Regions from separate parts of the Homo sapiens genome. Here regions 2, 3 and 4 are each linked to region 1. Evidence: promoter capture Hi-C in 16 types of primary human blood cells and fetal thymus (Javierre and others, 2016). All regions are on one chromosome and are shown on one strand. Each heading gives the region's core, a stretch centred on a gene start or on the middle of the fragment in contact. The rest is flanking DNA. Distances are from core to core; before and after follow the strand shown.

Evidence for each region. The method cuts DNA at HindIII sites, captures the fragments that hold promoters and counts their contacts. A CHiCAGO score of 5 or more calls a contact.
Region 2: a fragment that was not itself captured here is called in contact with the fragment with the promoter of IL4R in region 1 in 1 of 17 cell types (total B cells); the score reaches 5.1 in total B cells.
Region 3: a contact is called between a fragment that was not itself captured here and the fragment with the promoter of IL4R in region 1, in 8 of 17 cell types (naive CD8 T cells, total CD4 T cells, activated CD4 T cells and 5 more). The highest score is 9.8, in naive CD8 T cells.
Region 4: a fragment that was not itself captured here is called in contact with the fragment with the promoter of IL4R in region 1 in 6 of 17 cell types (non-activated CD4 T cells, naive CD8 T cells, total CD4 T cells and 3 more); the score reaches 7.6 in non-activated CD4 T cells.

Annotation. Positions count from the first base shown.
Region 1 is chr16:27,312,216-27,316,502 of GRCh38, forward strand. IL4R (interleukin 4 receptor) reads left to right here and starts at 1,759. Exons shown (of 11, transcript NM_000418.4): 1 at 1,759-1,805. RefSeq lists enhancers at 1-149, 972-1,702 and silencers at 1,480-1,779, 1,800-2,009, 2,450-2,499. The HindIII fragment of the contact is 16,225 bases long and covers 1-4,287 here.
Region 2 is chr16:27,113,243-27,117,529 of GRCh38, forward strand. No RefSeq gene overlaps it. Among named protein-coding and RNA genes, the nearest start is that of C16orf82, 48 kb to the left of the region's middle. RefSeq lists an enhancer at 1-140. The HindIII fragment of the contact is 1,446 bases long and covers 1,632-3,077 here.
Region 3 is chr16:27,143,905-27,148,191 of GRCh38, forward strand. No RefSeq gene overlaps it. Among named protein-coding and RNA genes, the nearest start is that of LINC02129, 31 kb to the right of the region's middle. The HindIII fragment of the contact is 249 bases long and covers 2,340-2,588 here.
Region 4 is chr16:27,161,751-27,166,037 of GRCh38, forward strand. The region is part of intron 2 of LINC02129 (long intergenic non-protein coding RNA 2129); the gene reads right to left. Among named protein-coding and RNA genes, the nearest start is that of LINC02129, 13 kb to the right of the region's middle. The HindIII fragment of the contact is 1,937 bases long and covers 1,089-3,025 here.

The DNA of each region.
Region 1 (4,287 bases), core at 509-3,008:
AGACCAAGTACATGAAAGAATGATTGACATATGGGCCAGGCGTGGTGGCTCACACCTGTAATCCCAGCACTTCGGGAGGCAGAGGCAGGCAGATCACCTGAGGTCAGGAGTTTGATACCAGCCTGGCCAACATAGTGAAACCTCATGTCTACTAAAAATACAAAAATGAGCCGGACGTGGTGGTGCACGCTTGTAATTCCAGCTACTCAGGAGGCTGAGGCAGGAGAATTGCTTGAACTCAGGAAGTGGAGGTTGCAGTGAGCTGAGATCACCCACTGCACTCCAGCCTAGGCAATGGAATGAGACCCCATCTTCAAAAAAAAAAAAAGAATGATTGACGTGCAGTGGCCCCTGCCCTGGGAAGCCAACCCTCACCCTCCACCACAGCACTTGATCCCATTGGGCAGTCCTTGGCTTCCACCCTCAAACTGAGAGCTCCTTGAGGGCAGCAGGGGGTCAAATTACTCTCTGGGTTCTCAGCACTGCCCAGTGTGAGTCCAAATATCTCCCACCTCCCCTGTCTCCGCTCTTTCCTCACTCAGGGCTCCACAGCCATGCCGGCCTTCAGCAATTCCTCCTGCAGGCTGAGCTGGTTCCCACAGGGCCTTTGCACTAGCTCTTCCCTCTCCCTACACAAGTCTTCCCCCATAGGCTCTTCAGAGTCTCAGCTCAAATGGCCTCTACTCAAAAAGCCTCTTCCAGACCACCTGCCCCACTGGTCTAAGAGGTCCCTACTTTCTTCTTGGGCCCTCCTGACCTGAAATACTTTGTTGAGTGTTTTCCCCCCAGTCATCTGGCTGCATCCGGGTTCTTATGGTGTCCAGACGTTAATGGTCTATGGGGCCTGTGTTCGAATCCCAGCTCCACCCCTGCTCCTGCTTACCTGCAGAGTGATTCTGAGTTTCTTTCTTTTCTTTTTTAAAATTTTATAAATGTCAATTTTTGTAGATAGGGGTCTCGCTAACAGGGTTGCCCAGGCTGGTCTCGAACTATGGGGTTCAAGTGATCCTCCCGCCTCAGCTTCCCAAAGTGCTGGGATTACAGGCATGAGCCACTTTGCCCAACCCATTTTGAATTTCTTAAGGACTCTGTGCCTCAGTTTCCTGATTTGTAAAACCGGTGATAGTATCACTCCCTTATAGGGTAGTTGCCAGGATTGAACGAGTTAACATTTGCAGTGCCCGACAGATTGTACTAGTTACTGATTGAAGGGCTGTTTTACTATCCAAATGTGGCTGGAGTAGGAGTTGGGTAAACATTTATTGAAGAATGTGCAACCACTCTCACTTGGAAGCCGGGCTGTTAGGAAGGGGAGGAGGATTCCAGTCGCCCAGCCCTCCCCCACCAAACGCAACTGCCCCGGCGCAAAAGAGGCCGCGGAGGCCAGGCAGGAGCAGGTCCTGGAGGCCTGGTCGGCGTGGGCGTTTTATTCCGAGACCAAGGGGATCCACTGCAGAGTTCTCCGCTGGGCGTGACCTCGGGCTACGGCGTGGGAGGAAGCGCGCGGCAAGACACCCAGCGAGGTGCTGGGGTCGCCCCCAGGAGAGGACGGCGGCTCGGACTGTCCGGCGGCGGCGGCGGGGACAGCGACAGGGGCGCGAGGTGGCCGGGACCCGGGCCGGGCGCGCCGGGCGGGGCGGCGCATGCAAATCTGCCGGGCGCCGGGGCGGGGAGCAGGAAGCCGGGGCGGGCTGGGTCTCCGCGCCCAGGAAAGCCCCGCGCGGCGCGGGCCAGGGAAGGGCCACCCAGGGGTCCCCCACTTCCCGCTTGGGCGCCCGGACGGCGAATGGAGCAGGGGCGCGCAGGTAGGATCCGGGGCCCGCGCGCGGATCGGGTTGCGAAGGTATCGCCCGGGCACGCCGGCTGAGGGCGTTCGGGAAGGGCTCGGCCGCCGGCGGGGACCACGGGGACCACCCCGACTCCGAGCGGGGCCCGAGCCCGCGACTCTCGGTGCGCGCGGAGCAGCGCCCGGTTCCGTCCTTGCCGCCGAACGGCAGCGGAGGCGCGAGGCCCGGGGTACGTGGACACCCAGCGCTCCCCAAAGCCGGTGCTGGCAGTGAGACCTCCGCCGGGACGGCCTGCGGGGGTGGGGGGCTTGGGGTTAGGCTGTCGGAGGCCACGCAGCCCCTCTTCTCCGGGCAGTGGCGCCCAGCCCTGCGCTCAGGAAGTCAGTGAGGACTTCGGAGAGAGAAAGGGTGGGGAAAGTTCTGAGAACTGTAAATTTGAGTAGTAGGTCAGTGAATCGGGGCGGTCTCCGCCTCCGAATATCAGATGGACCCAATAATCGCGATCATTGACTGGGACTTGTTTTACTGAAAGGATGCCAAGTGAAACCTCCCACTAACTTCTCTGTGGCCGGTGCTGTGCGTCATGGACATTGTACAGATGAGGTCACCAAGACCCCAGCCGCTTTAGTAACTTGCCCTAAGGTGCCGCCCACTTGGGAGTCCGTGGGGCAGCAGGACTAGAGCCCAGGCAATCCCACGCCAGAGCCAGCTGCTCTCCATCTCTCAATCACGTTTGAGGAGCCCCCACAATAACCAGAATCTCCGGGAGATTTGCTTAAAATGCAGATTCCCAGGTCCTTGCCCTGAGATTCAGATTCAGTAAACCCAGGAATCTGATCTTTATTTTATTTTTAAAAATTTATTTTATAAAGATGGTGTCTCACTATGTTGTCCAGGCTGGCCTCAAGTGATCCTCCCACCTCGGCCTCCCAAAATGCTGGGATGACAGGTGTGAGCCACTGAGCCCTGATTTTTTTTTTAAACAAAATCTGGATTTCTTAGACTTAAGCAAGATAGGGGACCACTAGTTTGTCTGCTTCTGGGGTTCAAGGAATGCCCCCAGGCCAGCGCTAACCCTGCTCCAGTTCTAGTCTCTCCCCTTCCCCAGCCCTCTGGGAGGCATGACCCACTGCACTTCCCTGCCCCCAGTAGCCTATGAGGAGCCCAAGGCATTTGCTGGGACCTCAGTGCCTTTATCAAAATCCCAAAGTCCAATGGGGAAACAGGCTCAGGTGTAGGTTTGGCCAGGGTGTCCTGCACATTAGGGCATTCCAGGGTCCTGCAGGGGTTTCTTAGAACTCGGCTAGCCCAGCCCATGAATGGGAGGTGACCTGCTAAGCCACTCATTCACTCACTAGCACTCATTCAGCTCCTGCGAGGCCCTGGGTGGTGTTCTGGGCACTGGTGCTTGCCTCAAGGAGCACCCCCTCTGCAGGAAGACAGACGTGAGGGCTGGGAGGGTGCGGATGCACCAGCGGCTGCAGGACCACAAGCCAGAGGGGATCAGCTCTTCAAAGGTCACTGGGCCAGGCTTCCCAGCACCCAGGGACCCTGAGCTAGCCTTGTGAGTAGAGCAGGGGAGTCTGGCAGGTAGAGGATGGGAGGTAAAGGGAGGCACAGAGTGGGCGGAGGCTGGGAAGTGTGAAAGGGCACTGTGTACAGAACCTAGGGAGTAAGCAGAAGCCAGAGATGGATGGAAAGTTGGGCTGGGCTGCATTGTGGAAAGCCTTGAATGCCATGCCAAGGAACTTGGGCCAGTGTATTCACCTTGGCTTGAGTTGTAAAAGCAACAATGCAGATTCCTGGGCCCCACCCTGGGCCTCTGGATCTGAATCTGGAGGGAGACGCTGGGGAGGCAGCAGGGAGGAAAACCTGCAGTCACTCACCCCATTTACAACACATGCAGTTACCGGCAGGTCCGAGATAACCTAAGGGTTTCCAAATGCTAGGAAGTGACTCAATGACTGATATGTTTAATACAATACAATCCCGGTTGCAAAATGCCCAGGGCAAGGGTGGGGGTGTTCAGTTTTCTAATGCTCCCAGTTCAAAAAGGAGCTGAAATGAATTGTCAAAGAAGTGACAAGCTGGGCGCAGTGACTCACACCTGTAATCCCAGCACTTTGGGAGGCTGAGAGAGGATCGCTTGAACCCAGGAGTTTGAGACCAGCCTGGGCAACATAGTGAGATCCTGTTCCTACAAAAAAAATTTAAAAACTTAGCCAGGCGTGGTAGCAGGTGCCTCTAGCCCCAGCTATTTGGGAGGCTGAGGTGGGAGGATGGCTTGAGCCCAGGTGGTCAAGGCTGCAGTGAACTATGATTGTGCCACTGCACTGTAGCCTGGGTGACAGAGCGAGACTCTGTCTCAAAATAAACAAATACATAAATACATGAGAAGAGAGAACCTTTTCTACCTCCCCCATCTCCCTGCCCTCTTCCACCCACCCCATCTGGGACGATGGAGGAGAGCGTTTGGGATTAGATGCCCCACCTCTCGACT
Region 2 (4,287 bases), core at 1,105-3,604, 200 kb before region 1:
CTCTTCTCCAGCCTTGCTGCTTCCTCCGGGCCCAAGCTCCCATCACCACCAACCCGAATAGCTCCGGCAGCCTCCACTGCCACGCACCTCCCCACCCTCCAGACAGCAGCCTGAGAGGGTAAGACAATCCAGATCAGATCCCACCCCGGCTTAAACCCAGCCATGGCTTCTCATTGACCTCAGAATAAAATGCACGCTGCCTGTTCTGACTGTGCTGCAGTTTCCGTTTGTCCTCGGGCTTCCTCTCCAGCCTTCTGCACCCGGCCCAGTACTCAGACCTGACCTGTGTCTGGAGGCTGACCTGCAGAGGCTGCATCAACCTTTGCTCTCTGCCATCTGGCTCCTGATTGACTTCAACCAATAGGAGTAAGAGGTGAAGCAGGAGGTCAGCGAGCAGGAGGAGAGAGAGGTGGGGTATTACTCCCCGGCTTCCTCTCTGCTTGGCCATGGGTGACAGCAGCTGGGTCCCTTGGGTGAGAGCTGTGGGCCACCTCCTACAGCTACCGCTCTGGCTGGGTTCCCCTAACTAACAGGGCCTTCCTGGCCCATTTAGGACTGAAGATGGTAACAAGTGCCCCACTGCTGCTGGTCCCAAAGTCCTTTGTTACCTCTTTTCAGTTTCTCTCAACCTGATCCACACCTCCATAAAGAGGGAGGCTGAGGCAAGAGGATCACCTGAGCCTAGGAGGTCGAGGCTGCAGTGAGCCGTGATCGCACCACTGCACTCCAGCCTGGGCAACAGAGTGAGACCCTGTCTCAAAAAAAACAAAAAGAGTCCTTTCATTCTTTCACTAAACTTTCACCAATGACCCCACCCCTTGAGTGTGCTGTCTGTATCCTGCCTGCACGGTAACTGGCAATAAGACCCTCATGCTCTAGCCCCTGCCCAGCTCCCAACCCCCTCACACAACTCTTCCAGCTCCTTTGCTATGCTCTGGCCATACCTGGCTCCTTTCTGTCCCTCAGCTGCACCAAGCCTGTGGCCTCGTTAGTGCCACATATTTTCTGTTCCATCTACCTTGGGACACTGTTCCCAGATCTTTATGCAGCTGGTCTCAGCCCAAATGTCACTCTTCAGGGAGGCTTTCCCTGACCACCTGTCACACACACTCATCCATATCCTTCACTTGACTGATAACCAATCCAGAATTAACCTCTTCAGTTCTTTGTGGGTTTGTTTCTGTTTATACCTATAGCAATGTTGATTCTGGCCAAGCATCATGGTGGCTCACATCTATAATCCCAGTGCTTCGGGAGGCTTAGGCAGAAGGATTGCTTGAGCCCAGGAGTTTGAGACCAGTCTGGGCAATATAGCACAACCCCATCTCTACAACAATACAAAAAAAAAAAAAAAAGATTAGCCAGGCATGGTGGTGTGTGCCTGTAGTCCCAGCTGCATGGGAGGTTGAGGTGGGAGGATTGTTTGAGCCCAGGAGCTGGAGGCTACAGTGAGCTATGATCTCACCACTGTATTCCCAGCCTGGGTAACAGAGTGAGATCTTGTCTTTTGAAAAAAAAAGAGTTACTTACACAAGGGCAGTCTTTTTTTCCACTAGTCTTTTTGTTCACTGCTGTAGTCCTGGCAGTAGTGAACATAAGGGGTCTTGATAAATATTTGTGGAATTAAAAAAAGCTTTATGTTCACTCTGGAGAGAGTGAGGACACTCACTCTGGAACCCCTGAAGGCAGAGGGTGCCCTGGGGTCTCTTTTCCAGGTTATGATCAGGCCTTTCTTGCCTCAAATCTCTCCACATCACCTCTCAGGGTCCACAAATTCTCGCACTTCAGTAACATCCCCAGTTGTGCTTCCTGAGAAGTAGCTGGGTGCTGATGAAAGAGCTTTGGCACAGGGCTCAGACACACCTGGGTTTCACTCCTGGCTCTGCTATGCCCATTGCCTCTCTGGCCCTCAGTTCCGCCATCTATTAAAAAGGAAACCCAAATGGAACCCAACATACTGGGGTCGTGGAAAGGAGCAATGAGACCCAGGCACGTAAGGCAGCCAGCACTGCCCTGCCCCATGCCAGGGATTTGAAGAGCAGCAAAGAGAATGAGATGCTGAAGGGTCCCTGGGAAAGGGTCCCGGGTCTTCCCCACCCAGGCTGAAGCCCAATCAGGAGAGGAAGGTGGACCTGTGAAGGTAGGGGCGGTGCCTAGACTAATGTAGCTGGGAGAGGCTTCCAGAGCTCTCCATGCACAAGCTGGTGTGGAGCAGTGCAGGAGTCCCAGGCGTGTAAGAGCAATGTGGACGTGGTGAAGGACTCAGGAGGGTTCAGAAAAATTCAGTAATTGTCTGGGCGTGGTGGTTCATGCCTGTAATCCCAACATTTTGGGAGGCTGAGGCAGGTGGATCACCTGAGGTCAGGAGTTTGAGACCAGCCTGGCTAATGTGGTGAAACCCCCTCTCCACTAAAAAGACAAAAATTAGCTGGGCATGGTGGCGCATCCCTGTAATCCCGGCTATTCAGGAGGCTGCGGCAGGAGAATCACTTGAACCTGGGAGGTGGAGGTTGCAGTGAGCCGAGATGATGCCACTGCACTCCAGCCTAGGCGATAGAGTGAGACTCCGCCTCAAAAAAAACAAGAAAAAAAAAAAGGAAGAAAAGAAAAAGAAAAGGAAAGAAAAGCTCAGTAACTTCCCAGTGCATCTCATTGAACTTAGCATGGGCACCCACCTGATCTCAATGCACCCAGGAGTTGGCATTCGAGGGCAGCAAGGAGCATCCCTCAGACTTGGATGCAGTTATACACAGCGCCACAGCAGCACGCATGGCCTGACGTCAAAGACTGGCTGAGAATCTCAGAAAATCATGGATGTCCCCTCCCCAACACCCTGACCTCCGCCCCTGCCGAACTTAGGGGTAACCCCAAGGAATGTAAGGAAACCTAAATTGATTGGAAGAATGGACACAAATTAAACATGGTTATGAACTTTGTTAGTCCATTTTGCATTGCTGTAAAGGAATACCTGAGGCTGGGTAATTTATTAAAAGAAAGGAGGTTTATTTGGCTCAAGGTTCTGCAGGCTGTGCAAGCATGGTGCCAGCATCTGCTCAGTTTCTGGTGAGGCCTCAGGAAGCTTTTAATCATGGCAGAGAGGAAGAGGAGCCAACGTGTCACATGATGAGAGGGAGCAAGAGAGACATGGGAGGTCCTAGACTCTATTCTTCCTTTAATTTTTCAACTTTTGTGGGTACATAGTAGTGTATATATTTATGGGGTACATGAGAGATTTTGATACAGGCAGGCAATGCATAATAATCCTATCAAGGTAAACGGGGGATCCATCATTGGAAGCATTTATCCTTTGTGTTACAAACAAGCCAATTACACTCTTTTAGTTATTTATAAATGTGTAATTAAATTATTATTGACCATAGTCACACTGTTGTGCTATCAAATCTATCAAATACTAGGTCTAATTCTCCTTTTTTTTTTTTTTTTTTTTTTTTTTTGAGATGAAGTCTCGCTCTGTTGCCCAGGCTGGAATGCAGTGGCATGACCTCAGCTCACTACAACCTCCTCCTCCCAGGTTCAAGTGATTCTCCTGCATCAGCCTCCTGAGTAGCTGGAGCTACAGGCACCCACCACCACACCTGGCTAATTTTTGTATTTTTAGTGGAGATGGGGTTTCACTATGTTGGCAAGGCTGGTCTTGAATTCCTGACCTCAAGTGATCCACCCGCCTTGGCCTCCCAAAGTGCTGGGATTACAGCCATGAGCCACTGCACCTGGCCCTTATTCATTCTTTCTAACTATTTTTGTACTCATTAGCCTTCCCAACTCCTCCCCGCCACCAACCGGCACCCCCCACTACCCTTCGCAGCCTCTGGTCACCATCTTTCCCAGGCTCTAAATTTTTAACGGCCAGATCTCACATGAATAGAATGAGAACTCACTCATTACCACCAGGAGGGCACCAAGACATTCATGAGGGATCTGCCCCCATTTCCCACTAGGCACCACCTTTAACATTGGGAATCACATTTCAACATGAGATTTGGAGGAGACAAACATCCCAACCATAGTGTGAAGTGAATGAATAAAGAGAGTGATATTTCCCATGCACCTGAGATGTGGACTGACATTTCTACCACATGGTACGTTGCCAGAATCCTCCATTGGGTGTGTGTGTGTCTTGCGACTTGAATGAGCCTGAGAAGCCTTGAGACTTCTTCCTGGGCCTCGGAAGGGCTGTCCTTATCAGGGACAGCTATTCTGCAAGAACTCTGCATGGGGAAGAGTAGAAATGACTGGGGGTGTAAATGTTGTCTGATTAATCACAAG
Region 3 (4,287 bases), core at 1,214-3,713, 170 kb before region 1:
GTGGAGCAGGGCTACCCTACAGGCAGTGTGTCCAGAGTAGCAGCTCAGAGACTGGTCTGCAGTCATGTTATACCCACTTTTAATTAAATGCAAATTAAGGGGTGGCTTATGCCGACAGTCCCAGAAATAGGATGATAACTTCCAGGTTGTCAGGTCATTGCCATGGAAATGGGGATTAACTTCCAGGTGTTGCCATGGCAGTGGTAAACTGACATGGCACTGGCGGGCATGTCTTATGGAGAGGCGCTTTGGCCTCTTCCCTGTTTCAGCCAATCTTCGATCTGGTCCAGAGTCCGAGCCCCGCCTCCAGGATCAAATCCCACCTCCCACGTCCCTGGGTTGGTGGCATAGATGATGGCAGTGCTTCCAAAACCTGGTGGAATTTTTTTTTCTGCTATTATACAAAAAAGTATACATAAGAGATGTGCAGCTTGGTGCAGTGGCTCACGCCAGTAATACCAGCACTTTGGGAAGCCAAGGTGGGAGGATCATTTGAGGTCAGGAGTTCAAGATCAGCCTAGCCAACATGGCGAAATCCCGTCTCTACTAAAAATACAAAAATTAGCCAGGCGTGGTGGTGCGTGCCTGTAATCCCAGCTACTCGGGAGGGTGAGGCAGAAGAATGACTTGAGCCCAGGAGGTGGAGGTCGCGTTGAGTCGAGATTGTGCCACTGCACTCCAGCTTGGGCAACAGAGCCAGACCCTGTCTCAAAAAGGTAAAAAAAAAAGAGAGAGAGAGATGTGTATAGTAACAATTTGAAGCAGCATCAGAGGACATATAGTCAAAAGATTAACTTCCCACCTCACTCGGCCACCAGTTCCCATTTCTCGTCCCCACTGTAACAGAGCATACGTTAATATACCCTCAAACTCCCCTCCTCAAAGGAGACACACCATGAGGACTTGCACCATCTTGCTTTGCCCCTTAATATTTATTGGCCATTGTGCCATAACAATAGGTATAAATCTGTCTCATAATTGTTAACAGTTATGGATGCATCATTATTTAATGGGTCCCCTCCTGACAGGCCTTTAATAAGTTATTAAACGCCATACCTCATCCTCACAGCAGCCTCTTGAGACACACATATTATGCCTATTGTACCAACTAAAATGATTAGAATAGGAATCCTCAATCCTCTATTCTAATTCAATAGGAATTAGAATAGAATCCTCAATTCTATGCTGGCTGCAGCGTACAATCACCCAGGGTGCCAGTGTGCCCGTCAGAGGCTGAGGTTCAGTGACCGACTCTCCCCCAGCCTCTGGCCCCAGCTGCTGTGTGTGCTGCTCAGACCTGTGCAAGGCACCACCAGGCCTTGCAGCAATTCATCCACCCGTTTTTATTTTGTATTAAAATTGTTATTCCTGCCTGCTGCCGCTACCTCCAGGCTATTTCTCAGGACATTAACCTTTATAGTCCTCCTCTACCACTGTTCCTTGGGGTTGAATTTTATTCCACTCAGGAGACCAAGGGACAGAGCCACTGCAGCCACAATAACTGGGCAGTGAACACCCCAGGATCCCGAAGAGCTGCCCATCCCAGCTGAGACTGGTGGCCTTTGGTTCAGTCCTCTGGATTGTGATTTGGACCCAGACATAAATGCAGAGAAAGACACAGAGAACGGTGGAGAGAATGTAGACAGAGGAGAGAGAGAGAGAGATAGAGACAAAGAGCTGTGTCCTCATGTCCAACTGTACAAAGATGGCTTGTAGGAATTTCCCATCAGGTAAACAAATCAATATGAGTCATGTACTAAGACACTGCTATCGATGAAAACAGCTGAGATTATTAGTGCCCACTGAATGCCAAAGAAAACATAGACATCACCTCTGGTTCTCTCTGAAACCCTACAAGGAACTATTGTGAAGAAACTATGACCCAGTGAATTAAGTGCCTTTACTTAAGTGTATCAGTCAGCATAGGCTAGGTTATGCTGCTATAACAAACAATCCCAAAAATCTCAGTGGGGTGAAATAACAGAGACCATAAGATTAGCTCTCACTCAAACTAAATGTCCATCAGGGCTTGACAGTGACTCTGTTCCAGGCCACCTTCTCTAGTGGACAGGTTCCTCCACTGCTGAGACAACCCCATAAGGAAGAAGGACCAATATAGTCCCCAGTGATGTGTTGGTGAATGATTAATAACAGTTCTGTGAGGGTAGACAGTGTCTGTGTGTGTGTGTGTGTGTGTGTGCACGAACACGCATGTGTGTATACATATCTTTATTATAAATTTTACTGATAAAAGATGTATTGTACACAGTTTATAAATAGTAATAAAATATACAAACTCTTTATTGAAAATTGTCTATAGCCAAATGATTCTCACGGAAAGCTTTTGTTGATTTTTATTATACAACTCTGACATCCATAGCCCACCTAGAGTTCCAATGAATGACTCTATAATGTTTTTTTGCTATTCACAATGTAACAGCTACCAATATGACACTTTTCAGTTTAATTTGCTTTTTCTTCTATTGCTTTCTCACGTCTATACAAGAACCCAAACAATTCATAGAGACCTGATTTGTAGTGTTTGCCCATTTTTGGTGGTATAAATGCTTCCGAAATGGCCAATGTCAAGCTTGCACAGTGAGGTCACTGCATGCAGAACAGGGAAAGAAGTGTGTGTTCACACACTGTTATGTAATATTTCCATCTTACAGATACAATGGACATAAATACATTCAAAAACTTAGAGAGTAGTAAAATGCAATAAAACAAGAAGTGGTGGGTTTGGGGTATTTCTTTCCTTTGTTTTTAATAAAATGTGTTTAGCTATAAATTTACATAATTTAATTTTTAATGATGGCTGCAGTTAATCGCTGGCTTAGAAAACTCCTGCATGCCTCTGTTATATTCCCCCAGCTGCTAGAGTTCCCCCATGGCCCTCAGCTGTCAGCCCTCTGTAGGAATTACCCTCGGATGAAGAGCTCCCTCTCACCCAAGATCACCTCCCTTTCTTTCTTTTTCTTTCTTTCTTTCCTTTTTTTTTTTTTTTTTTTTTTTTTTGAGATAGGGTCTTGCTGTATTGTTCAGGCTGGAGTGCAGTGGCACAATCACAGCTCACTGCAGTCTCGAACTCCCAGGCTCAAGTGATCCTCCCAGCTCAGCCTCCCAAGTAACTGGGACTACAGGCTTGCACCACCAGCTAATTTTTTTGTATTTTTTATAGAGATGGGGTTTCGCCCTGTTGCCCAGGCTGGTCTCAAACTCCTGGGCTCAAGCGATTCACCCACCTCAGCCTCCCAAAGTGCTGGAATTACCTCTCCCCTTCCATAGGGGTAGCTCACATCCAGTGAGCTGTTGACATGAGGGTATAAAAGCCCAGATTATTGCTGCAACTTGGGACATGACTGAAGGACCACAAGTCTCAGAGCTCTTTGTGGAGCCCACTCCTCTGTCTGCCCAGTTGGGCTTTCTTCCTCCCACGTGAGTGCAGGTACTGAGAACACAGCCTGGTAAACTTCACACGTTAGTCTCCGTCTAGAGTGTTCTTCCCAAGGAGCCCCCACAACGCTGCCACTCCAGGCTCCAGGCTGATGGAGCAGCTCTGTCTGGAGCAGTTATTCGGTCATTACCAGAGTAGGAAAGAGACCTCTGAAGGAGCTCACTTCTGCTCCATCCTCATTGGTCAGAGCTAGTCATATGATCCTACCCAACCATCCTTCCTAATTCTCCAGAAGTGGGAGAGCCAGTGATATAGTTTGGAAATTTGTCCCTGTCCAAATCTCATGTTGAATTGTAATCCCCGATGCTGGAGGTGGGGCCTGGTGGGAGGCATTTGGATCACGGGGGGCAGATCCCTCATGGCTTGGTGCTGTATTCGTGACAGTGAGTTCTCGTGAGATCTGGTCATAAAAGTGTGTAGCACCCTGGCTTTTTGCTTCTGCTCTCACTGTGTGACGTGCCTGCTGCCCCTTCACCTTCTGCCATGAGTAAAACTCCGAGGCCTCCCTAGAAGCTGAGCAGATGTCAGCATTATGCTTCCTGTACTGCCACAGAACCGTGAGCCAAATAAACCTCTTTTCTTTATAAATTACCCAGCTCTGGGTATTTCTTTGTAGCAATATGAGAATGGACTAATACAGCCAGAATACTCAGCACACACAGCACTCAATAGTGATCACTGCTGCACAATCACACAGCTGGCCAACAACAGCTCTGGGGTGGAATTCCAGGTCTCTGTGACCACAAATCTATGCTCCTCTCCTTACACACCATTTGAGAATTGAGACTCTCACTTGGACTGGTCACAGTGGCACGCACCTATAATCCCAG
Region 4 (4,287 bases), core at 807-3,306, 150 kb before region 1:
TATTTCAGATTTTTTCAGATTTTGGAATATTTACAAATATATAATGAGATATCTTGGGGCTGGGACCCAAGCCTAAACAGGAAATTCATGTATGTTTCATACACACCTTGTACACATAGCCTGAAGGTAATTTTATATAGTATTTTAAATAATTTTATGCAGGAAACAAAGCTCAGACTGTGTTTTGACTGTGACCAGTCGCATGAGGTCAGGTCTGGAATTTTCCACATGTGCCATCATGTCAGCGCTCAAAAAGTTTTAGGTTTTGGAGTATTTTGGATCTTGACTTTTTGGATTAGGGGTGTTCACCCTGTGAACTGGGTATATCATAAGGGGCTGGGCACAGTGGCTCACACCTCTAATCCCAGCACTTTGGGAGGCCAAGGCAGGAGGATCTCTTGAGCCCAGGAATTCAAGACCAGTGTGGGCAACATAGAGAGACCTTATCTCTACAAAAAATAAAAAAATTAGTCAAGTGCTGTGGCTCATGCCCATCATCACAGTATTTGGGGAGACTAAAGCTAGAGACTCACTGAAACCCAGGAGATCAAGGCTGCAGTGACCCGTGATCATGCCAGCGCACTCCAGCCTGGGCAACAGAGCAAGACACTGTCTCAAAAAAATTAATTTAAAATAAAATAAAAATTAAATTTAAATTTAAAAATCAAAAATTACAAAATTAATATTGGAAGGAAGAAATGAATATTGGGTAGGTAATTTCAAGTGTCTGCCACAGAAAGAATGCTGGAGGAGGAGTCTTGAAGAATGAGTGGGAAGAAGTTGAACAAGAGTGTGGGAAAAGCCAAAGGGTCAGCACAGTTAAAATTCCAGGAATAGAAGGTGTGTGTTGACTTTGGAGACTCAGAGAAGAAAGTGGAGTGACTGAGAGCTGCAGGCAGACATCAGGATGGAAGCCAAGGCTCCTGGGCACCTGCCAGGAGGAAACATCACCAGACCCTCCCATTCCCAGCAGGCAGGTCCCCAGATAGGTAAGAGGGAAGGGTCAGTGCTTCTCACTGCACATGCATGGACTTTGCATATGCAAAACTGGCCCCATTTTCCAACAATCTGGATGCCCATAGAACTGAAGCTTAATAAACTGACATTTGTATAATAAGATGTGTCTGGGCCGGGCATGGTGGCTCATGCCTGTAATCTCAGCACTTTGGGAGGCCAAGGCAGGTGGATCACCTGAGGTCAGGAGTTTGAGACCAGCCTGGCCAACATGATGAAACCCCATCTCTACAAAAAATACAAAAAATTAGCCAAACATGGTGGCAGGTGCCTGTAATCCCAGCTACTTGGGAGGCTGAGGCAGGAGATTCTTTTGAACCCAGGAAGCGAAGGTGGTGGTGAGCCGAGATCGTGCCATTGCACTCCAGCCTGGGCAACAGATGGAAACACTGTCTCAAAAAAAAAAAAAAAAATGCCTGCTGCCTGTTGACCAGCTTCTCTTCCTTATCCCACTTGTTTTTCTTCCCCACTATATAAACCCCTAACTTTAGTTGGAGGGGAGAGATGGACTTGAGGTTTGTCTCCCTCTCTCCAGCTGACATCGCCTGTAATATGTAATATAAATAATATATGATAAATATAATAGTATAAACATTGAATATAATAAAGCCTTCTTCCATGGCAATACTTGTTGTCTCAGTGATTGGCTTTCTGTGCAGCAGACAATGAGACCTAGAACAAAACCGTAGTATTGAGTAACATATGGATGAGCCACCCCCACACTGATGTGTTGAGCTCCCCATGGGTTAAGCCTCTTATTCAAAAGGGCATGGCATTTCTTCCTCAGAGTAGCCTGTATTCTATGAAACATTATGTTTCACTTTGTTTCTACAAAACTGACCCAAAGATTTTCTTGTTCTTCTTGCTTTGAATTCTGCAGCTATTTACAGCTCTGTACGCTACTGTGGATAAAGCAAAATGGCAAGTTGCACTGGGATCCTGGTGTTTGAGGAGAGTGGAGCATCCCTGCTGCATGCCTGGGAAACAGCAGATGTTGAGTAAATGATCATCACACCTGGGGTGGGCTCCCGGGCCTACTTGCCTTGTTCTCAGTAGTGACTTGGATTTCCCTGCTTTTAAAAGAATCTTTGGCCTCAAGAGTCCTATTTTTCCACCATCAGTATTTAGGAGATTACCCAAAGGGTACCTGCATGTACTCACAAAGTGAAAAGTGAGCCCCCTGGGATCAGCTGCTACCTCACCAGGTACCCCCCATCACCCCATACCTCCCGACATCACTGCTGTGTGGTGCTCTGCAGCAGGGAAGGGAAGTAGGGGAGGAAAACCATTTGTTTGTTTGTTTGTTTTTCTTTTTTAGAGATAGAGTCTTCCCACTGCAATCATAGCCCACTGCAGCCTTGAACTCCTGGGCTCACTTGATCCTCCTGCCTCAGCCTCCCTGAGTAGCAAGGACTACAGGCGTGTGACACCACACCTAACTAATTTTTTTATGTTTTTAGAGACAGGGTCTCTCTGTGTTGCCCAGGCTGATCCTGAACTCCTGGCCTCACATGATCCTCCCACCTCAGCCTCCTGCATAACTGGGATTTGAGGTATGAGCCACTGCACCCAGCCAGATTTTTTAAAATGTACTATGTCACAGTGGCCTCATATCAGAGCCACTTGGGCCCCATGTGTTCCAGTGTTTGCTGAAACTGCTCTTTCTGTCTTTAATTTCAGCTCTCTCCAACCCTGGAATGAGACAGCCTCCCACAGGGTGGAGCTGCCAGAAAGAGCTGAGTAGCCTCTTTGGCTTTAACTATAGAAATTTTCTTGATTATGGTAGACCCTTGGGGATATCTGTTCCAGCTCAGGATCAATTCTCCTTCCCTGGAAACTGCCAATGGGAGGGACCTTATCAGAAATATTTGCACTGTGTAATTCTACTCCCTGGACACAGTGATTAGACCAGGCATGGCCAACTGACCCAAATTGAGCCAACCAGATTTATTTCTCATAAGAATTTAGTGCTGAGGCCAAGATAAACGGGGCTAATTTCTGTAATGGTTGAAGCTTGTAGCCTTGGGGGCTGTGAAATATGGCCTCCATATGAACAGAAAATCTGAGAAAGTGTATCTGTGTGGATGGACAGAGAGAAACAGAGATGAGATGTAGAAAGCCAGACACAGTGGCATGCACCTGTAGTCACAGCTACTCAGGAGGCTGAAGCAAAAAGATTCCTTGAGCCCAAGAATTCAAGACCAGACTGGGCAACATAGCAAAAGCTGTCCCTCAAAAAAGAAAAAGAAATCTTGTGCTTCTTTTTTAAATTTATTTTCAACCTAAGAAAGATGAATGAAGAAACAGCAACAACCACAACCCCAAAAAAAGAGAGAGAAATGGCATGCTGATACCTTTCCACTTCCCAGCTCCAGGCCTTTCTTAAGACTTAGGGATATTCCTGCCTTAACTTTCGTGAGACACCTCCATATCCTAGTCAGAGTCGTTGGTTGCCAGCAACAGACTCCACTATGGCGGCTTTAGGTCACAAAGGCATTCATCAAAGGACATTCATCAAGTCTCCAGAAGAACCAGAGAATCAAGCTTGGACCCCACAAAGCCAGAAGTCCCCAAATTACACTGCAAGAATACTGCAACCAGGCCCCTACAGCTATCCTGCCCACTGCTAGTGCCAGGCCCCTCCTCACGCTGTTCCTGAGAACTGGGTCCTGTACTCCTGCTGCAAGGAAAGCTACAAAGCAGCACTCCTGACTTCTGACATGGAGAGGCAGAGCTCCTAAATAAAGAGACTTCTCATAGCTATTCAAAAGAAACCACACTGGCCAGAAGCAGCAATGCATGCCTATAGTCCCAGCTACTCGGGCAGCTGAGGCAGGAGGATCGCTAGAGCCCAGGAGTTCAAGTCTAGCCTGGGCAACATAGCAAGATCCCATTTCAAAAAAAAAAAGGAAGAAAGAAAAAAAGAAACAACATAACCACATTGCATTACAAATGTCTGCAACATCATTGTGGTAACTTCTGGCTGCAACAGAGTCTTATGATAAAACTCTGTGCCCCAGCTCTGATCACTGGAACAAGCTGGATAGGTCCATTTTCTTGCCAGGGTGAGACCAAGGAGGTGCCCAGAATGGAAAATTTAAGGAGGCCCTCACTCTCAGGCTCGTGAAAGTGCAGGGTCAGCTCCTGAGAGTGGGGTCTCCTTAAATGTTGTGCCCTGAATGCCTCACTTGCCTTATCCTCCTCCAGGCCCTGCTTCTTGCTGCTCCTAAAGGCCTTTGCTTTCTGGATATTTCTCAGTCCTCCTGCAAACGC